Regions from separate parts of the Homo sapiens genome. Here regions 2, 3 and 4 are each linked to region 1. Evidence: promoter capture Hi-C in 16 types of primary human blood cells and fetal thymus (Javierre and others, 2016). All regions are on one chromosome and are shown on one strand. Each heading gives the region's core, a stretch centred on a gene start or on the middle of the fragment in contact. The rest is flanking DNA. Distances are from core to core; before and after follow the strand shown. Region 1 holds the start of C3orf70 (chromosome 3 open reading frame 70). Region 2 overlaps VPS8 (VPS8 subunit of CORVET complex). Region 3 overlaps VPS8 (VPS8 subunit of CORVET complex). Region 4 overlaps VPS8 (VPS8 subunit of CORVET complex).

The links. The method cuts DNA at HindIII sites, captures the fragments that hold promoters and counts their contacts. A CHiCAGO score of 5 or more calls a contact.
Region 2: a fragment that was not itself captured here is called in contact with the fragment with the promoter of C3orf70 in region 1 in 1 of 17 cell types (endothelial precursors); the score reaches 7.5 in endothelial precursors.
Region 3: a contact is called between a fragment that was not itself captured here and the fragment with the promoter of C3orf70 in region 1, in 1 of 17 cell types (endothelial precursors). The highest score is 5.1, in endothelial precursors.
Region 4: a fragment that was not itself captured here is called in contact with the fragment with the promoter of C3orf70 in region 1 in 3 of 17 cell types (endothelial precursors, megakaryocytes and erythroblasts); the score reaches 11.1 in endothelial precursors.

The regions. Positions count from the first base shown.
Region 1 is chr3:185,151,122-185,156,530 of GRCh38, forward strand. It overlaps C3orf70 (chromosome 3 open reading frame 70), which reads right to left and starts at 1,939. Exons shown (of 2, transcript NM_001025266.3): 1 at 1,507-1,939. The coding sequence starts at 1,702. RefSeq lists a silencer at 1,345-1,564 and an enhancer at 1,985-2,124. The HindIII fragment of the contact is 2,735 bases long and covers 843-3,577 here.
Region 2 is chr3:184,855,662-184,861,341 of GRCh38, forward strand. It overlaps VPS8 (VPS8 subunit of CORVET complex), which reads left to right. Exons shown (of 48, transcript NM_001009921.3): 14 at 50-157; 15 at 4,324-4,404. Among named protein-coding and RNA genes, the nearest start is that of VPS8, 46 kb to the left of the region's middle. The HindIII fragment of the contact is 901 bases long and covers 2,092-2,992 here.
Region 3 is chr3:184,821,701-184,827,481 of GRCh38, forward strand. It overlaps VPS8 (VPS8 subunit of CORVET complex), which reads left to right. Exons shown (of 48, transcript NM_001009921.3): 2 at 2,845-3,085; 3 at 4,463-4,531. The coding sequence starts at 2,933. Among named protein-coding and RNA genes, the nearest start is that of VPS8, 12 kb to the left of the region's middle. The HindIII fragment of the contact is 1,788 bases long and covers 3,285-5,072 here.
Region 4 is chr3:184,875,913-184,881,474 of GRCh38, forward strand. The region is part of intron 21 of VPS8 (VPS8 subunit of CORVET complex); the gene reads left to right. Among named protein-coding and RNA genes, the nearest start is that of VPS8, 67 kb to the left of the region's middle. The HindIII fragment of the contact is 485 bases long and covers 3,499-3,983 here.

The sequences.
Region 1 (5,409 bases), core at 689-3,188:
GAAGTTAGAAAGTAACTGATTTCAGCTCCATATAAGGAAGAGTATTTTAAGAGTCAAGGCTAATGAAGGGAGAAGCTGTCTGAGAAAACTGCAAGGTTCCCATCAGTAACGGTGTACTTAGAGAAGACACTGTCAAAATAAGACAGACAGTAACCTGGACTATCTTGAACATTCCTCACATTTTACACAACGATTCTATACTTTCCCACGAAATGAATGAAAGTCCAGATTCTACTTGTGCACTTCAGCATCCCAGGTTTCCTAGAGTTGCTACTTCCAACTCGGTACCCTGTCCCACCGTGAAGCAATGCTTTATACTAACAAAAGAGAACAGATCTGAGCACAACAGGAATAATGAGAAATAGGAAGAAACTGGCCCATAAGCAAATGGAACACCAGAAATCAATACTGTTCTATGTGCCTGGAATTTGTAAAGAAAATGATCCTCTATCCTTGAATTCATAAATTCGATTTAAAATATTCATTTATGTTCGATTAATGTAAATAAGGATTTGTTATGTACTGCATTCCTGGTTGTCAGCTATTTTTTTCTCAACAAAGAAAAATTCATTTTAACTTAAGATCACTTGGAAAATGTCCTAAATAAGCACTCCAAAACCCTCTATTACAAATATATGTGGAAACTAACTTTAGAATATATTTCTTAAAATGAATGATTCATCGGATATAGTCCAAATACTATTAGCTAATCAAATTGTGAAATTCTAATTAAATGGCTACTTAAGTTTAATCTATTTAAAAATCACAGGCAGGAGGCTAAACACAGAGAAAGGGTTTAGACCATTTGGTTCTAGCTTTTATAAATTGGTTTAAGACTATTAAGCTTACTTTCACTCATTTTATTTTGTAATTTTATAAGTCTCATTTATTTGGCTCTAAATTCTACATCTGGGTATTTAAGGAGCTCGACCTTCCAAACTGTTAATATTAACTTCTTGGAAGCAATCCCTCCCACATTAGCGCTTTTTCTCAATTTGGGTACAATCAAGGGGGAAACAATTGGATATCCAAGGGCTCCTTCTTTTAAATAGCAGCCCAGGAAGACAAAAGTGAGAAAGAAAAAGAGGAGCATCTTTAACCAGCAACCTTGAAAAAAGGCATCCCCAACAGCTGTCGCCAACTCAGCTGGCTCGCTCCCATTTCTCAAAACACCGCCTGGACGCCTTGGTCAAAAAAAGAAAAAGAAAAGAAAAAAAACCAGATTCCCGCTTCCCTGGGACAGGGAGCTCCCTTTTGTAGAAGTAGCTAAAGAAAGCGAGGCGCCCCACGGGATTTCATCTCGTCGTCAAGGCAGCGCCAACCCCAGCCGTCCGGCGCAAGGAAAGCTCCGGCGGGCCCGGAGCCCACGGCGGCCCCAGCCTCCGGCAGAGCAGCCCCGGCAGAGCCCGGAGCCCCGCGGCCGCAGAGTTCCGGCAGCGACCCCGGACGGCCCGGCGGGCGTCCCCCGGACCGCGGCGGAAGGCGGGAAGACGCGGCTCGACTTACAGTGACACCATCCTAGGTGACAGCACCAGTGCAGCTTGAAGCACTTGCCATGGCTGTGCGTGGCACAGATAGACAGCCCGTCGCACGGCTGGAAGTCGGGTCTGCGGGCGGCGCAACTCCGCGCCAGGGCCTGAGCCTCATCTAGTTTCTCGCTCTTCCAACCCCGCTCCGACGCCGGCGAGGCCGCCGCACTCATTTCCTCTCCCTCCGCGCGGAGCCGACACCGGGAGCCCGGGAGAAGCGACGTCTGGGTGGGCAGGAAGCCGAGCCGGCTGCGGACGCGGGAGGGCGCGGCACGGGCCGGGAGTCACGCCAGCACGCGGCGGCGGCGGGAGCGCGGCGGTCCCAGGCTCGAGGAGGAGCCGCCCCGGGCGCTGCGACCGGGTCCGGGCTGGCAGCCTCCCTCCCTCCGGCGCGGCGCGCGCCGCGCCCCACGCGCACACGCACGCGCACAGGCGCGCGCCGGTCGGCCCCGCGCGACGTTCCTCAGCGAGCCCGGCCTTCTCACACACACGCCGCTGGGGAGCTTGGCCGTCGGCGTCCCCGCCGGTCACAGCGAGGTCCTCCTCACATACTCACTCCTTCCTCGGAGAAAGACCCCGACGGAGGGCCGTGGTGAACACACACTCCTCGGCCGCTTTGTACTCACATGCACGCCAGCCTACATATGCACTTCCCCCCGAGTGACACTGGCCACCGAGAACTGACACACGCGTCCACACGCTCCACGGAGGGCTGCGCACACCTGGCCCACGCCCACCCGAACCTCCTAGTGGCCCGGGCCGGGTGCATCGCGTAGCGAGGATCTCACACACACAGCCTGTCCCCACAGGCGTCTCACATCTCCCTCGTACACACCTCCCCGTGTCTGGGCATGGAGCCCCTGGGAGGCGCGCACACGCTCGTGCACACGCGCGCACTCCCCCCACCCAGGGCGGGCCTCCTGCCCCAGCGCGGCCACAGGGCGCGTCAGGGGCCAGCACCGCCAACCCCTGCCCGCCTCGCCCCAAACCCCAGGCCAGTGCGCCCGGGCCTTCCCGCGCCCGCCCCAACCTTCGCCGGGACCGCAGCCCCTCCCCCTTCTCCTCCCACCCCCGCCTCCGTTGAGCGGGAAAGCAACAAAGCTGGGTGCATTGATGTGTGTGTGTGTCTGCGTATGTGTAGTTTGGTGTGCATGGGATGTGTGTGTTGCGTGCGTGTGTATGATTATTTGGAGTATGTATGGTGGGTATGCGTGTGTGGTTGTGTGTGGTTAGGTGTGTTCATGGTACATGGTGGGTGGTATGCGTGATGCAAGTGACTGGTGAGGTGTGTGTATACGTGTGTATGTGAAATGAATGTTATAACTGAGGTGGAGTGTGGGTGGTGTGTGTGTGGTTGAGTGTGTGTGGCGTGCAGAATATGTATATGTGTGTAGTTGGACGTGCATGTGCTTGTGCACGTGTTGTGGGGGTGGGTATGCTTAGTAATACAGAGTGGTGTGTGTATGGTATATGTGTGGCAGTGCAGTGCGTGTATCTGGCATGTCGAGTGTGCACATGGCATATACGGATCAAATCGGGTGTGTGTGGTACATAGGAGTGGGTGGGCACACAAACAGGACTCATGTATGCGGAGGACTCTGCCTTTCTGTGTTAGCGCCTGCTCTGGCCAGCAGGTGTGACTGACCCTGTGGTGGCTGCGGCTTCCCCACACAGTTGGCTCGCACTCTTCCCTCCTGGGGACAAGTTGCTCCAAATAGATTTTCCATGCCAGGCTCTGCTGCTGAGAACCGACCCCAGGCTGGATTCACTGAAGAGGAAACAAACCATTTGCTCCCATGGTGCACTGCTGGGAATTAGTGTTTCCCTGCAACAAGGCCAGAACCCAGCCTTGAACACAGAAGAGGAGGGGACACCCCCTCCTTATTTGCCAAACGCACAGAAGAATGCTTGTTCAAGGAACAAGGCTTTCAGCACAAACACTGTGTGGGAACATGTTTATGCCCAGGTCCACTTTCTCCTTTATGCCTTTCCTGCTTTGCACTGACAAGAGACTCATCATGGTTTTGAAACAACCAAATTCATCCTCAAGCTTGAAAATCCTTGCTGCCATAAGCAATCTTTCATAATTTTCCCTTTTATGTAACCTTGGCTTGAGAAGGGAAATGTAATTTGCATATATCTGACTCTGGTGAAATCTTCATTTATTAGGGATTGGGGAGAGACTCAATTTGGCAGCAAAAGTATTTTCCAGAAAGGTCTGAATCAAAATCACAAACTCTAGTTCCCCCATTAACCTAACATTGAAACAGTTGCAAACATGAAGAATCATCTCATCAGCTTCCACCCCAACTGCTCCCCGCCTCAAAAAAATCCTAAAGGAATACATCTCTGACACAAAATCTATGCACCCCTGCTGTTAACTTCACAGTCTGACCTACCTCAGAATAACGGAAGTAAAAGGCAGAGAAATCTTAATCAAAGAAATCCATACTCCATTATTACTGCAGCAAGCCAACCAACAATTTTTCAAAGGGGACTTTCCATCTGTTCTACCCTATTTTTCTCTTTCTCCAACCTATAACTCACTCTAATACTGCCCCTATCATAGAAGGCCTTATGACGGCATCCTCTCTGTATTTCAGTAACTAATACTTGTATGGGATCCTTCCCCTGACTTTTACCCCAGGGTGAACCATGTGGTAAGATTCCACAATATATGAAATAAACCATCTCAGCTAGTAAAAAATGAGCATGAGAAAGCATGCAATATAGCACTTTAGCTAGGAGGCAAGATGAATTATCCAAACACCTTATTTTAGGTTAGACACGTGATTTGAAGTTGAGAAGCCTTTACATTTTCTGTACCATGAAACTCATTCCATCACCTTGCCCTAAAGACGTTATTGATTTCTACTGTCTGGTGTGGAGCGGGAGGAGGTAATTGCTGTGACCTCTCAAATATATACACACAGCTTTCAGGATGTGTTGTTGGGATACGATTTTTAAATTTTTTATTATGAAACTTTCCAAAATATACAAACATAGAGAGATGAAGATAACCCCCCATGTACCCATGTACCCATCACCCAGTTTCAACGATTATGAACTCATTTAGAAAACCTTGTTTCATCTACAGCGCCACCCACTCCAGGCCCCCAACCTGTCCACTGGATCATTTTTAAGCCAATCTCAAACATCAAATCGTTTCATCCATTAATATTTTGGTGTATATCTCTAAAGGAAATTTTAAAATCTCTAACCATAATTATTGCATAATAGCATACAATTTGATCATAAATATGAACTTGTCCTGTAGCTGCTGACCACCTCTCCAGCTCCCCTTTAAGAATGCTACTCCCTGCCAGGCACAGTGGCTCATGCCTGTAATCCCAACACTTTGGGAGGCCAAGGCGGATGGATCACCTGAGGTCAGGAGTTCGAGACCAGCCTGGACAACATGGTGAAACCCCATCTCTACTAAAAATACAAAAATTAGCTGGGCATGGTGGTGCGCACCTGTAATCCTGGCTACTCAGGAGGCTGAGGCAGGAGAATCACTTAAACCCGGGAGGTGGAGGTTGCAGTGAGTCGAGATCGCACTGCTACACTCCACCCTGGGCCACAGAGTGAGACTCCATCTCAAAAAAAAAGGAATGCTACTCCCTGCCAGGCACAGTGGTTCATGCCTGTAATCCCAACACTTTGGGAGACCAAGGCGGGCAGATCGCCTGAGGTCAGGATTTCAAGACCAGCCAATATGGCGAAAACCCATCTCTACTAAAAATACAAAAATTACCCGGGTGTGGTAGCGCGCACCTGTAATCCCAGCTACTCAGGAGGCTGAAGCAGGAGAACCACTTGAACCCGGGAGGCAGAGGTTGCAGTGAGCTGAGATTGCACCACTGCACTGCCTGGATGA
Region 2 (5,680 bases), core at 1,292-3,791, 290 kb before region 1:
CCCTTGTTTATTAACTGTGATGATTTTTTTTTTCCATCTCCCTACTTAGATGGATCCTTCCAGTGTGCCACTGCTGGCCTGGCACTTTGTAGCAGTACAAAATTACGTGAATCCCATGCTTGCCTTCTGCAGAGGAGATGTTGTTCATTTTCTATTGGTAAGTCCTAATATGACCATTAGAAAGCCTCTTACAATTTTTTTTATTCATCAGCAATTAATAATGTGTCAGAGAAATTTGTGTTACTATCCTAAGTCTTTGGAGAGAGAGTGACCTATTTAATTTTTATCTAAGGCTTTAATGATTAGCATCGGAAAATGGTGATCACTCTCAGCTACATAACTTCTCATGGTTTATTTCTCAGCTTCATTTCTTTGACTGACAAATAATTAATGGTATATGTAAATGTATAAAGATATGAATGTGAATATGTGTTAATGTATGTGCAACTACATATGTGTGTATTAATGACAGCAAGTATCATTGAGCACCTATTATGTCCTCTACACTGTGATGGGCACAAGCAGCAAAGGAAAGAAGGAAGTATACAACATAATTTCATCTTCCACACAGCTTATAATCTTGTTTGAAAAGCAAAATCAGTGTGTTCATTATTACTACAGAAAATGGTTTAAGGATTGAACTATGTGATGAAAATCAAGCTGATGTAAATTCAGAGTACAAAGTGATTAGTATGGACTAGAGAGAGTATTAATGGCTTTATGAAGGATATACTGCAACTACTGCAGGAAGGGTAGGTATGCATACTGGGGGAAGTGAGATGAACTGAAGTCACAGAGGCAAGAATGTGCCTTTGTATTAATAATCTCTTGCGTTTCCTAGCTCAGTGAAGCAAGTTCACCACTGTCCACCTAGTTTCTCCAGCCAGAAACTTACGAGTTACTTTTCAGTTACCTTTCTCTCTTCATATGTGCTCTATCACCAAGTCCTATTGACTCTACCTCCAAAAATCTCTTGAATTTCTCCTTTTTTGTCTCCCCCATTGCTGTTTCCTTAGTCTAAATCATGTACATGTCTAGCCTGGATTCTGCCATAGCTTCCTAGCTAGTCTCTGGCCTCAGTGCCTTTTACATATACTGTTGCCTCTGCCAGGAAAGTTCTGTGCTATCTTCTGTTGTCTCTGAGCTCATGATTAACATGACCTTCCCTGGCCTCTGAACTAAGTTAGTTACATGCATCTTTTGATAACATTCAGCACTTAAAAAAAAACAAAAGAGGGACGAGGTCTTGCGGGTCTCCAACCAAGGCCCAGGCTGACTCTCGAACTCCTGGCCTCAAGCGTTCCTCCCACCTCAGCCTCCCAAATATTGGGATTACAAGTGTGAGCCATTGTGCTTGGCCACATTCAGCACTTTTAAAATTACTTGTCTAATATTTTTCTTCCCCACTAGACAGAAAGCTCCATAACTCTAGAGACCATCTTTACTGTTATATTTCCAGCCACTAGGACAGTGCTTGTATATTGTAAATATTCAGTAAATGTTTATAGAATTAATGACAAAGAGAAACTTGTGGTGGAAAATATAATTGAATAGATGGGGTGGATTGATAGTAGGGGTTGGCACACTATGGCCCATGCGCCAAATCTGGCCAGCCGTCTGTTTTTATAAATAAAGTTTTATTAGAACATCCCCAATACAACATTTGAGAGTCCTATCTTTACTTTCAACTCAACACATTGAAATATTCCTTAATCATTTTCTTCCTAAACAGTATCTCTTCAAATATTTCTTGATTCTAAAATGTAAAGTCAGAAATGGGATGTTTCATTCATGTCCTTCAGTCTCTAGATCCAATATGATGAGAAGGCTTGTTTTTCCTTGAAAGTATCATCCCTTAACTCTCACTGCAACCAACCCTCTTTGTATAAACACCTTACATGTGCTTTATTATGAGAGAAAAACCTTTAATGTTTCTCCTCCCTTCTGTGTGTATTCTTTTTGCTACTTCAAGACTGATCTTCCTAAAATGTCACTTTAATCCCGTCTTTATGACTTTAATTACTTAGGAACCTGTGATGACTCCATTACCAGTCTAGGCCAATCATTATTAATCTAGATCAGGGGTTAGCAAGCTTTTTGTGTAAAGGGCCACAAAGTAAATATTTTAGTATCTGTGGACCATATATTCTCGGGAAACTGAGAAAGAGTAGGTGACTGCCCTTGGTCACACGGGTATAATAGTGGAACTTAGATATATGGCTCTAGATCCCATGTTCATTTTACCAAAAGATCTTTTCTTAAGGGAGAAGTGATTTAGTGAAGTGAAGAGGGGTCCACATGAAGGGCCCACATTAAGTGGTTTCAGATTTTTGTTAAGATATCAGGTGAGGTCACCACTGTAAGTGATGGGATCAGAAGGTAACTTAAAGGGAAAGACATCTATGATACTACTATGGGGAGTGTGCAAGAAAGCCCAGGTTGAATTGAATGCCATGAATTTCAGGTGGTCGGGTGTATCTTGTGCTTTATATTTCTTCAGTGTTCTGTTACCTTGGAGCAGAAGGGGAAGAAGCAAATTATAAGGATGACTGAGGATATAGAGTGTGTACTTATATACATATAAATAAAAGATTGACACTCAAGGTCCTTTTGGGAAATTTTGGGCTGCAAGAGTTACACAAGGGAACTTCAAAAAGTTTGTGGAAAAATGGAATTAAAAAATAAAAATAAATTTTATTTCTCAACATCAGCTTCATCTTGTTCAAGATACTTTTTAAAGTGATGATACCAGCCATATAGTCCATCCTAAAGAACTGAAGGTCTTGGGAATTTAATCATGCCAATGCAGTCTTTTTCACATTATTAACTAAAGAGAAATGGGTGCCCTTTATAGACTTTTTCTAGATTAGAAGACGAAAGTCACAAGGAGCCAAATCAGTACTGTATGGTGGATCGAATTGCTCTCAAAATTGGCCTTGTGTGATGAGAGCAATGAGCAGGAACATGGTTGTGGTGGAGGACTCTCTGGTGAAGCTTTCCTGGGCATTTGTCTGCCAAAGCTTTGGCTAACTTTCTCAAAACACACTCATAATAAGCAGATATTATTGTTCTTTGTTCCTCCAGAAAGTCAACAAGCAAAATGCCTTGAGCATCCCAAAAAACTATTGCCATGACCTTTGCTCTTGCCTGGTCTGCATTTGCTTTGACTAGACCACATCTGCCTCTTCATAGCCTTTGCTTTGCTTGTGCTTTTTCTTCAGGATCACACTGATAAAACCATGTTTTATCTCCTGTTACAGTTTTTCAAAGAAATGTTTCAGGATGTTGATTCCACATGTTTAAAATTCCCATTAAAAGCTTTGCTCTTGTCTGCAGCTGACCTGGACACAACTGTTTTGGCAGCCATCAAGTAGAAACTTTGCTCAACTTTAATTTTTCAGTCAGAATAGTGCAAACTAAACCAGTTGAAATGTCTGTGGTGTTGGCTGTTGTTTCTGCTGTTAATCGTTGATCTCTTTCAATTAGGGCATGAACAAGATGAATATTTTTCCTCACTAATTGATGGGTATGGTCTACAGCTGCAGGCTTCACCTTCAACATCATCTCCTTCCTTCTTAAAACGAGTTACCCATTTGTAAACTGCTGATTTCTCTGGGGACATTGTTCCCATAAACTTTTATTAAGCATCAGTGATTTTACATTCTTCCACCGAAGCTTCACCATAAATTTGATGTTTGTTCTTGCTTAAATTTTAGCAGAATTTATGTTGCTCTTTGGGGCTCTTTTCAAACTGATGTCTTATCCTTTTTAATGCCTCAAACTAGATCCTTTTCAGACATGTTATAACAAGTTAGTATGAGTTTATTTTGGTGCAGACAATTTTTGAGATCCATGCATAGTTTTTTCATAGTATACATTTTCCATGAACTTTTTGAGTCCTCTCATAATAATATCATAGTTCAGAAAAGTCTGGTTTACATCACTGCAGCATCTCTTTTTCTTTAATGGACTTTTGACTTCCTCACACCATGTCACCTTTCCTTTTTGTACTTTAATTATAGTCATTGATGTGATAAAGTTAGGTTGTTCTGAATTATAACAGAGTGAAAACTATGTCACAGCATTTGTCAGTACTGACAACTAGACCACCCCCAGATATGCCCTGCATTTTGGTGTAAATAATGGAACAAATAATTTTTTTTCTATTTTCATAATCATTTGTGTAATTATCAGTATTTTTGGCTTATCTACAGGGAATGGGATAATGGGTAAATGTGATACTCTAGGTGGAGTATAATTAAATATCTAAAAAAGTCCCTCAAACAGTAGCTGGTTTTTAGGTTGTTTTTATTTCATCATCAGGTAAAGAGAGATGAATCTGGAGCAATACATGTTACTAAGCAAAAGCATCTTCACCTATACTATGACCTCATCAACTTTACCGTGAGTATTATTCAAATTAAATATCCCCATTTAGTTCATGTAATTGTTCTGAATCTATGATATATTAAAGCTACCAGGATTTCTGCCAAGAATTATTACCTTTAAGATCATATGAAATATGGACAGTCCGGCACCGAGGCTCGTGCCTGTAGTCCCAGCTACTTGGGAGGCCGAGCTGGGATAGCTTAAGCCCAGGAGTTCGAGGCTGTAGTGCTCAGTGATCGCTCCTGTGACTAGTCACTGCACTCCAGCCTGGGCAACATAGTGAGACCCTGTCTCTTAAAAAAAAAAAAGTATATGTGTGTGTGTATATATATACGTATATATATGTATGTATACGTATATATGTATATATATGTATATATGTGTGTATATATATGTATATGTATGTATACACACACATACACACACACACACACACACACACACACACACAGAAAGAGGGAGTCCTGGTTATATTGAATAAACTCTGAATGTGGTGTGATGCCACAAATTATTGCCTTTCAGTCTATGTCCTGCTGAACACAGGCAGGATTAGAAATTTAATGTCTTGTTTAGCTCAAAGGGGAGTTTGGCTTCAGAAGAATTTAGGTGAATTTTTTGAGAATCATTGCCTTGCTTTCTCTGTAAAACATTTTTTGTATTTTTGAGCTTTGTCTTCATTGATTCAGCAGCTTGTGCAACCTCTTTTTTTCTTGCGGCTAAAAACTTTGCAGAGCTCTCTTTCTACCATGCATCTCAATCCTGAGTGACTTCTTGGTTTTTTTTTTTTTTGAGATGGAGTCTTGCTCTGTAGCCCAGGCTGGAGTGCAGTGGTGCGATCTCGGCTCACTGCAAGCTCCGCCTCCCAGGTTCAAGCAATTCTCCTGCCTCAGCCTCCCGAGTAGCTGGGACTACAGGTGCCCCCCCATCACGCCTGGCTAATTTTTTGTATTTTTAGTACAGACAGGATTTCACCGTGTTAGCCAGGATGGTCTCAATCTCCTGACCTCGTGATCTGCCCGCCTCAGCCTCCCAAAGTGCTGGGATTACAGGCATGAGCCACCGCACCTGGCCAACTTCTTGGTTTAAAAAGAGATTTCTTTTTGTATCAAATTTTATTTTTTCTCTCTCAAATGGTTCGTTAATTTTGAGAACAATGTAATTATAATATTTCTGGGTTCCCATCATTAATACATTTTAGCACATCAGTGTCTGGTGTCCAGTAACATTCTGTAGATGCATGAATATAGGCAACCCTAAATATAAGGCAATGCCTCATTTTTCTAATAAAAAG
Region 3 (5,781 bases), core at 2,929-5,428, 330 kb before region 1:
TAGAACCTAAGTTCTATCAATAGAGGTTCATCTCCAGTGACAGATGCTTAGTGTTTAGTTAGGTGTGTGTTAAGTGAATGATTTCTTTTCTGCAGAAGCGAGCTGGGTGGGGAATGTGGGATCTGCTCAGCCACATTATTCATTGTATAGAGAACAATGGAAATATCTCTTCCTCATCAGTTCCATTTTAATGAATCCTGGTGAAAGACTCTGGCTATCACATAATCCCTTATACTAAGGGATTTTTGACCATTAGCCTCTACGAGAACACATGGTTTGAAGGAGCCCTTCCCAGAACAAGAGACGCTGTTCTGAGCAAACAACACAAATGTCCACAATATTCCATTTTAATGATATAGAAATAGAGAGGTTCAGAAAAGGTAAACAAATTAACCAAGGTCACAGATAGGAACTCATAAAGTCCAGATTCAGACTTGATTTATTTATTTTATTTTTTGGGGGGTCAGGGGTGGGGAGAAGTGATTATTTCCTGGTCATTTCTAAGAAAAGTGGCCACAACAGCAGACCTAATAATAGACTCTTTGGCTTGTGTTCTGTCCACTTTGCCAGCACATTACATTGGTAAAAGGAGCTCAGTGAAATGAAGGTCAGAAATGGGGCAGGGTAGCTTGGTGGGATGATGTCTTCAGGGAGTGCCTGATCACCTGACACTTCTTCAGTGTGATATTGGGGTTCACAGATGCTGAATTGTTACATGGTCTTGGAACCTCTTAATAACTCCAGATATGAGATAAAAAGAGCTGGAAAAAATTGTTTTCCTTTCTGAGTTATTTTGGAAAGAGATAAAATATGAAACATTTTAGATTATTAAATCAGTTAAATATTATTTTCCTGTATGGTCTTTCCCACTATTTTTGAAAAATGTGTAAGAATAAAAGTTAATAACTATCTTTAGGAACCACTGAACGTGAATTAGATTGTGCATGTTTGTAAATAGTTGTTAAATAATTGCAACCCTTTTTGCTTAGTGGTACAAATAGGAGTTGAAAGACTTTATTAAAAAGTAATTTGTCATGAGCTAAGGTCTTTGAAGAAATGAGTATAAACATTAGTATTGCTACTGCATTTGGGTTATTGCAAAAGGAGCCCTATATTTAGAACCTGATGTTGGAAAGATACTTTAAAATGTTGCCAGGCAAAGAGTGGCCTCAGTTATGTGTTCTAGGAATGTGTTTGATAGTGTGTGTTTTATTAGGACACAACCCTATAAATAGAAAACCCATTTTCTGTAACGTGAAAGAAATTAGTCTGTATTTGGTAATATACCAAATAGTGTAATAGCTAGAAAAGTTGGTTTCAGCTCTTGAAAAGTCAGTTTCATAAGTCCATGATTTATACAAGGTAACTATTCATTTCTTTTAATATGATAAAAATGAAACATCAAAGGAAGTGAATTAATTATAGGTACTAAAATAATGAGCTTCATTAGATAAAATTGTCAGTGAATTTTTAGCATATTGTTTAAAAACAACTAATCTCAGTTCACTTTTTAAAAAATTAGTTATTTCAAGCCAGGCATGATGGCACATGCCTGTAGTCCCAGCTACTCAGGAGGCTGAGGCTGGAGGATGGCTTGAGCCCAAGAGTTGGAGGCCACGTTGACAATATAGTGAGACTCCATTTCTTAAAAGAAATTAAGTGGCTCAGTAATTACAAGTCTTTTTTTTCTGCCTTCACTAACATGCACAATCCATCTTTACTAACATACACAATCTAATTTACTAAGAGAAGCTCACTGCAGGGCAAGGGTTGGTGGTAGTGGTGTTTATACACGCTAAAGGCAGTATGTAGTTTGAAAGAGCTTTGCACTGAGAGTTTTGCCAGTTGTTTGGTACTGTGAAAAACATCTAGTTTAGGAAACAAAATGATCTTTATTATTATTATTATTAGGGCATTGTTTCTGTTTTCATATTTTTGCTTTATCCTAAACAGGTAAAGCTAATTGGACTTTTTAAAGTTGGGTCACTTGTGGCCTAATTGAAACACAAAGTAAAATCATTTAAAAGCAGACTTAATTATTAAACTTACAGTAATGTTTTCAGTATATTTTAGCTTTCTAAAAATGACAGTTTTGCAAGTAAACCAAATTATCTGTGATTTTTGATATAAGTGTGATCTATCATTTAGAGCTCTGAAATAATAAAAAGCTGTATAAGTTTCTAGTTTTCTTTAGTATTTCATTTCTCTCTGAAAATGTCCATGTTTCTCTGTGACTGGCTCTGTTTCTAGAAATCTCTGGTAGGCTATGGAGTTATTTTATCTTGGGGTCATTGTTGTTTCCTTTAATAGATCTGAACCCTTAGGTTTGCTCGTGTTGTATTAAATAGCTAGTTGTTCATCCTCAGTGTTTCTGCTAAGCTCCCAGAGACGTCTGTGGCCCTGTGCAGAGGCCAACAACAAAACTGGTTTATATGCTTATTTCCAGGGGAACTGGAGCACTACCCTGGGGTTTGGAATGTAAAGAAGGCATTAATTGCAGCTTTTGGCACCGATTTACCCTTATGCTGTTAGGTAAATAAATCTAGTTGGTACCAGGTCTAGTGGCTGAGCCTATTAAGTTATCACTATCACCAGTTTCATGACTTTGGGTGGCGGGCCACTTCCTAAAGTCCTTGAGCCCAAGTTAGCTGTTCCTCCTTTATGCTCTCATTGAAACCCTCTCCTAATAACATACCCTGTACCCCACTGTTAATTTCAGTTTGCCTGCAATCGGATGTTTAGGTGAAATCTGACCAAGTAAGTCTTTGGAATGTCCAATTGACAAGGAGGAAATCTAAATGATAGTGTTTTGTTTTGTTTTTGTTTTTTTCTTTTTTTGAAAAGAGATAATCATTCAGGTCTTCGTGAGCTAAGGCCAAACAAACAAAAAACACTTGCTTTGATGGACTGAATACTGTTATTAGAAGTAAATATGGAAAATGAACCAGACCATGAAAATGTGGAACAGAGCCTCTGTGCCAAGACGAGCGAAGAAGAGCTGAATAAGTCTTTCAATCTAGAAGCTTCACTTTCAAAATTCTCTTACATAGATATGGACAAGGAACTGGAGTTCAAAAATGATCTGGTAAAAATTTCAATTTCTGTCAAGTGATAATGTTTAACCAGTGTAGATTAGAGTATGCTTTGTGACCCAGAGACTCTAAGTCTGTCATTTTTGCATGGGTTAATAGGAGTCTGTGTATAATTTTTTTTTTTTTTTTTGGATACAGGGTCTCACTCTGTTGTCCAGGTTGGAGTACAGTGGTGCAAACATGGCTCACTGAAGCTTCAACCTCCTGGGCTCAAGTGATCCTCCTACCTCAGCCTCCCAAGTAGCTGGGACCACAGGTGTGTGTCACCACGCCCGCCTAATTTTTAATTTTTTTGTAGAGAGGGTCTCGCCATGTTGCCCAGGCTGGTCTCAAACTCCTGGACTTAAGCAGTTCTCCCTTCTTGGCCCCCACGTGTATAGTTTTATGAGATAACATTACTCTTCATTTGTATAGTCCATTACAGTTTATGAAACAATTTGATTCATGTTGTCATTTGAGCTTTACAACTCTCACAACACTCTGATAATCCATTGTATAGATGAAGACACTGGCATGCAGCTATGTAAATGACTTCTCAAAGTCACAGAGCCAGTGGTAGTTCCTTATCTTGCACAGCATTTTTTTTTCCCTTTGATTTAATATTATGTTAATGGGTTTCTATGAGTATGAGAATAACAGCATGTTGCTTGACCTAATTATCTCTCACCATAATTTATGAAATAACTAAGAAATGTGATGTCAGACTTTTGCTTATTGCTTATGACTTATGTCTAAACTTAGAAAATTAGGGGTTTTCTTAGATGTTGTTTTGTCATGTTTAAGAAAGCAGATGCAAAAGTCTTTCAACACAAGTTTTCTGGAAAGTAGGCCGGGCGTGGTGGCTCACGCCTGTGATTCCAGCACTTTATGAGGCCGAGATGGGTGGATCACTTGAGGTCAGGAGTCCAAGACCAGCCTGGCCTTATGATGAAACCCCATCTCTACTAAAAATACAAAAAAGATTAGCTGCTTGTGGTGGCACGTGCCTGTACTCCTAGCTCCTTGGGGGACTGAGGCAGAATTGCTTGAACCCGGGAGGTGGAGGTTGCAGTGAGCTGAGATCACACCATTGCACTCCAGCCTGGGCATCACAGCAAGACTCTGTCTCAAAAAAAAAAAAAAAGTGTTCTGGAAAGGGCTGTCAGGATAGTGCAGTTAGTGCATATATGTCCTTGATGGTAACTGAACGTGTAGATAGGAAAGGAAACCACTCTGTAGTCTTGACTTGATTATTACTGTGGATTTTTGAGTTGATCATTTTGGTGGTAAGTTTGTCTTTTAATTGATGGTGGTTTTAATCAACTAAAACCCCTCACAATTATAAGCAGAAAGGCATCATTTTGTGAGCACTATTTTTTTTCTTTATTTAGATTGATGACAAGGAGTTTGATATTCCTCAAGTTGATACTCCTCCAACACTGGAAAGCATACTAAATGAGGTAAGTGAATATTAATGATTACTGTCATTTTGTGTGTGGCATTCATCTTAATACTTTTTGGATTAGTTATCATACATGCACCTAGATGCGCACTTTCCAGTAGGGTAGCCACTAGTCGTGTGTGTCAGTTTAAAATTTAAATTAATTATAATCAAATAAAAATTTAATTCCTTGGCTGCACAAGGCACATTTCAAGTGCTCAATAGCCACGTGTGGCTAGTGGCTACTATATGGCTAGGGGACAGCATAGATAAAGAGTATTTCCGTCATCACAGAAAGTTCTCTTGGACAGCAGTAGTCTAGATTGTGAGCTTCTCAAGGGCATAAACCATCTCTTGTTCATCTTTAGGGTCTCTGTGCCCAGAACAATGCCTAATACTTGGCAGACTTTAAAATATATTTTATTAAGTGAATTGAGATGCAAAATTTATGTCACTTTTGAGGTTTGTATTATGTGTTGCTAATGGTTAAGTTGTCTCTACCACTGATATTCAAATAGCTTGTCCTCTGACGCTAAAGAACATCTTGCAACCTTATAATAAGCTTCATCACTCTTCTACATGAAGAAAACTAATCTTTTATAGTTTATCTTATGAATACCATTTCTAATGAAAAGTTTTTCAGAGTTTTGAAATGGTGTTATTCTTTTCTGAATTGGGAGATCAAAGGCTTTCTAAAGGGGCTCTGTGAGAGGACATGGTTGGTGAAGCACGCCTGTTTTATATACCCTGCATCTGCTGACAACCCTTCAACTCAGTCTTCATTTTTTAAAAACTTGCTTGAGACTTCCCTTGGAGGTTTTAGCTTCTAATTTGAGAAAGATCTTGCAATGTATAAATCTATTTCAAATCCGCAGTTATGTTTTCCAAAAGATAAAGACCCAAAAGTTCCCTGACAGAAAGGCCCACGTATACCAAAGCTCCGAGTGAGTTGGGCCTCTGTCTTTATTATTTCTTTGCCTATCCTGTGAGGGTTGTAGGCAGCACTTTATAGGATGCAAACTACTTTCTCTGTCAATTATGTCTTTTATTTTTCTTGTATGGCTTTTATTTCTATGTTTTACATCAGTTTGATGTTGCTGTTACTTTGAGTGTATTTTAACTTTGAATGTGTTCTAACTTCAGAAGTGTCCTATATGTTCTGTGTGAAGACTTAAGCATTTTTAGTTTTGATAAAGAAGGCTTTGGTCCATGAAAGAATATTCTGTTACAGTGAAATGTCCTTTATTTACTTTCTAATATAGAGGAAAT
Region 4 (5,562 bases), core at 2,491-4,990, 270 kb before region 1:
CCGGGAGGTTGAGGTTGCACTGAGCCAAGATCACGGCACTGCACTCCAACCTGGGTGACAGAGCAAGACCCTGTCTCAAAAAAAAAAAAAAGAGTTGTCTCCATTTCCTTACCTCCTTCTCATCCCTTAACCTATTCCATGTCTATAAATTCTGTGGACCCTTTTATTTCTCATCTTACTGGTCCTCAGCAGCATTCAGCACATGAAGACTTCTTGAAATAGTCTGTCCATTTTTGGCTTCCCTGATATCATGCATTCCAGTTTTTTCCCTACCTCTCTGACTGCTTATTGATTCTCTTTGTTTATTCTTCTTCCTTTTCTTTACTTAACCAAGAAATGTTAGGATTCTTCACAATACCCTTCTATTTTTATATCAATGTTTGTCAAGATGTCTGTGTACCATTTACTTCAAAATCATTTGAAGATATTTGTTAAAAATGCTTTTTTTTTTTTAATTTCCCAGGCCTACTGAATCAGACTCTCTGGGATTGGTGACCAGGATTTGTAGTCAGCTTTCAAGATGTCCCTTAAGCACATTAAAGTTTACAAATCACTGCTTTACATTCTTCCCTAGGTGATATAGGCACATGGCTATCTAACCAGTGTTAACAACCTAGATTGCTCTTCTGAATTCTGAGGTCTATAGAGTAAGTTGCCCATTTACATTTCTGCTTGGATGTTTTGTAGGTACCTCAGACTCTGTTTCCTCACAAAGCCTTTTCTGAGGATTCCTGTGTTAGTGAGTGGATCCACCATGCACCTAATGCAAATTGGGTGATTCTTGTCTTTTACTTGTTCCTGGCTATTCTGCCTCCTGACAGTTTCTCTCATCTGTTTCCACCATGCTGTTAATTCTGCCACTATCCTAGTCTAAGTGCCCATCATTTCCCTCTTGGTATATTATAGAATTCTCCAAATCGATCTCTTTGTACACATTCTTACTGTACTTCATTTCATTTTCTACACAGCAGCCAAAGAGAAATGTATATCAAATCTAGATATGATGCTTTCCTAATTTTAAAATATTTTAAGGACTTCCTATTGTTTCTGAGGTAGAGACTAAATTCCCTAACATTTTCTAAGGCTCTGCATGGTCTACGCTTGCCTAACTGCTCCTAATTCTCTGTATTGCTGTTATACTAGAGTTCTTTCCAGTGTCTTAACATCCCTGTTCTCTCTTTACCCAGAGCCTTTGTGCACAGTGTTCTCTCTGCATAAAAAATCCTTTCTCATTTCTTTGTAGCTCAACTAGCTCTGTTTATTTTCAGGTCTCAGTGTAATTGTCCCCCAGATTAACTCAGATCCATTTCTTTCTAAAATACTATGCACTGAAGTCACTCATTCAATGTCAGTTTTCTGCAGCTAGCCTATGTATGTTTAGGGACCTGTGTAAGTTTAGGAACATGTCTGTTTTTTGTCATTGCCGTATGCCCAGCATCTGGTTCAGTGTCCTTGATAAATAGTTGTTGAGAGAATTTTTAAAAATATATGAACTTATGTTGTAGAGCTTGCTTTGAAAGCATGCTTTCAATTTAAGAGGTTTGAGCTAAGAACCAAATGTAGGACTTAGTATTTGCAACACATATGTCATAATGATGGCTCATGTGGTGTGCTGTATGCCTGATGGCTATCTTATTTAGTCCTTATAACGTACTTGAGGAGTGCTTATTATTTACCTCCATTTTCCAGAGGAAATAGACACACAAAGGGGTTGAGTAACTTGCCCAATATCATTGAACCGGTGAATAGAACCACCATAGATACACACCCAGGCTGCCTGGCTCAGGAGCCTCGACCCTGTACTGTACTATGTTTCATCCCACAGTTTATTCTTTGATAATCTCAGACCAATGTGTTGTTATGTAACTCACTTTGAAACAGAGAGGACTAAGTAATTTATGAGTTTTGGGAGGATATTGAAATATATGAAAAAGAAAATACAAATGAATTTTAGCATAACCATGGTAAATATACCTGAACAATTGACTGATTTGAGTTGCTAGCAGTGTTTTCAAACTAAGAAACCACTGCTAATCAGTTAACTGTGGAAACAGTATTTTGGGTTATTTTATTTTGCTATGCTTAATATATGTGTTTTTATTTGTTTTTGAAACAACGTAGAGGTATAAATAATGAGGCATTTTAATGCTGTAATGTGAATCAAGCTTAAAGGATTTGAAAAATAATATAATTTTAAAAGACCCTTTTTTTTTTTGAGATGGAGTCTCACTCTTGTCCTCCAGATTGGAGTGCAGTGGCATGATCTCGGCTCACTGCAACCTCTGCCTCCCGGGTTCAAGCTATTTTCCTGCCTCAGCCTCCTGAGCAGCTGGGATTACAGGTGCCCGCCACCACACCCAGCTAATTTTTGTACTTTTAGTGGAGATGGGGTTTCGCCATGTTGGCCAGGCTGGTCTCAAACTTCTGACCTCATGATCCACCCGCCTCGGCCTCCTAAAGTGCCGGGATTACAGGTGTGAGCCACTGCGCCTAACCTAAAAGATCTTAATGAAGCCTTATGTTAATCGTTACTAAGCTCTCCTTCCAGCTTCATTTCACATTTCTATGAGGGTCAGATAATTCAAGGCTATTTTTGTAGCAGCTGTAGGCATATATTTTTGCATTAAGAGGTAATGTCAAAGAGTGGACAGTGACTACAAGCCAAACACAGAGCGAGGCAGTAGGAGCTTTCCTTGTCTAACCCATACCTCCTCTGAGAAGATTTGAGGAGAGGAAAAGAGTGTTGATGTCTAGCACATTGCCCTATCCCTGAGGCTTGATTAAAGTGCTGGTTCTGAGGAGTCAGGTCTTTCCTAGATTATTTTATCATCATACCTGAAAGAAGAAAAGAAAAATACATACACACATATACATGCAGAGAGATAATCTAATCTATATTGCTGTTTGGGATGTTTGTATACCAATCCTGGGGATACCAGCTGCCTAGCTCTGGTAGCCTGTGGAGATTTATCTGTGTGTGTATATCTGTGTGTAGATAGATATGTTTATCTGTTTTGGTGTATGCGTGTATACATATGTATGTATATATAATTTTGAATCATTTTCACACAGTCAAGTTTTCCTTATCTGATAGTCTTTTAGAATATAAATTAAGAGAATTAGTACCATCGCTCCAAAAAGCAAAGGAATCTGCATCTGTTATTTCTTTTCAAATCATCCCATGAAATAGGGAAAACCAGAGATTATGTCTTCACTTCACAGATGGTAAGATAGTCACAATGCAATAAAATGATTTATTCAGTCACTCAAACCATTGACAGGCTCAAATTTAGGTTATCTGTCAGCTCAGTTTTTTATTTGTATATCCACATTGCCTTCTTTAATACATCTTAAATATACATGAATATCCGACAAGAGAAGCAGTCTTTTTTGGCCCATTATAGCCCATACATTGAAGAAGAGATTAGAGAAATAGTTACTTGTTTTCTTTTTTTTAATTTTGGAGACCCCAAATTCAGTGATTTCTTGCATCCTGCAAGCTTTTGAGACTGAGTAGAATATTCTTAATATTCTTAAAGCAGGTATTGCTCACAGTGTCTATCTCGAAAGCCCTTAATCTGTCAGCATCCTGTAGAGAGGCATATGTAGACCAGGTCTGGCTGTATGAACTGAGGGCTTTGCTGCAAGAGAAGGACTTGTTCTTTCCCATTCTGCTTTCTTTCAGGGCTCTCATGAGAGGAGCCTTCCAAATGAGTTTAGAGGGATATTATCTGAGCTTGGGCACCAGCTACTCCAGGTGGTTGTTTACTAGTCCGGGAAATGCCAGCTGCCCAGCTCTGTGGAGCAAGGCAACTCTGTGAGGATTCTGTAGGAAGTTGAGTCTTTGTGTAGCCCTTGCCAGTTGGGAGATGGAGAGCTACTGATCCCACTTAGCTCATTTTCAGGCATCTAAGAGATTGCCATCAGGGATTATCCACTGGACAATATAGTTTGTCTCTCTGTAATCTGATTCTGGGAAGCAAAGCTTAAAATATGGAAATAGATTTGGCTTTAACTAATACTCTGTTTTACTTATGGTTTTAAATGTTCTAAATTGATAAAGACCTGGCTTCTTTAAGAAGCCAGATTGAAAGTGTTAATTTGGATGGTTTTGCCTTAATTGAGTTAGGAACAGTTAGTGGCAGGCATAAAAAGTATGTGTATTTGGTTTTTTTAAAATTAGTGATTTTGTGATATTTGTAAATTCATACTCAGTTGCAAGAAATAATGCAAAGTGATCCCATACCCTTAAACCAATTTTCCCCAATAAGAGAACATCTCATGAAACTATGGTACAGTCGCATAACCAGGATATTGATATTGATAAGGTAAAGATACAGAACATTTTCATCACCACATGGATCCCTCATTTTACCCTTTTATAGCCACACCCACTTCTCTTCTGCTCCCACCCCCTCCTTAACCTCTGATACCCAGTAGTCTGTTCCTCATCTCTATAAATTATAATTTCAATAATGCTATATAAATGGAATCATAGAGTGTGTAACCTTTTGGGACTGACTCTTTAAACTCAGCATAATAATTCCTTAGTGATTCACCCAGGTTGTTGCACATATCAGTAGTTGGTTGCATTTTATTGCTGGGTAGTATTCCATAGTATGGATGAGCCACAGTTTGATTAACAATTTTACCGGTTGAAGAATATCTGGGTTGTTTCCAGTTTGGGGCTGTTAAAAATAAAGTGGCTCTAAACATTTCTGTATATGTTGCTGTGTGAACATGTCTTCTTTTCTCTAGGAGAAATGTCCAGGTTTACAATTGTTGGATCATATGATAGTTGAATGTTTAATTTTAAAAGAAACTGCCAAATAGTTTTCCAGAATGCCAGTACCATTTCGCATTCCCCTAGCAGTGTGTAAGTGATCCAGTTTCTAGTCTACATCCAGCATTTGATGAAGTCACTGTTTTATTTTAGCTATTCTGGTAGGTGCATAATGGTATCTCATTGTGGCTTTAATTTGCATTTCCCTAATGACTAATGATGTTAAACATCTTTTCATGTGTTTATTTGCCACATGTATATCTTCTTTTGTGAAATGTTTCTGCATGGGTTTTGCCTCTCTTCTAACTGGATTGTTTCTCATCATACTGTTGAATTTTTAGGGTTTTAATATATTCAAGGCACTAGTCCGTTATTGGACTTGGTTCTCCCAGTTTGTAGCTTTCTTTTCATCCTTCTTAACAGGATCTTTTGCAAACCAAAGGTTTTAATTGTGATGAAATCCAATTTATCAGCTTTTCCTTGTATGATTGTGCTTTTGAAATCAAGTCTCAGAACTCTTTGCCTAGCCTAAGATCCTGAAGATTTTCTCCTATGTTTTTTTCTGGAAGTTTTAACAGTTTTGTGTGTAACTTAAATGTGTGATCTATTTTGAGTTAATTTTTACATAAGATATGAGACTGAGGTCGAAGTTCCTTTGTGTGTGTGTATAGATACCTAATTGCAGCATTATTTGTTGAAAAGGCAATACTTTCCTTCTTTCCTCCACTCAGTTGCTTTACCAGCTTTGTCAAAAATCAGCTGGGCTTATATAGTGAATC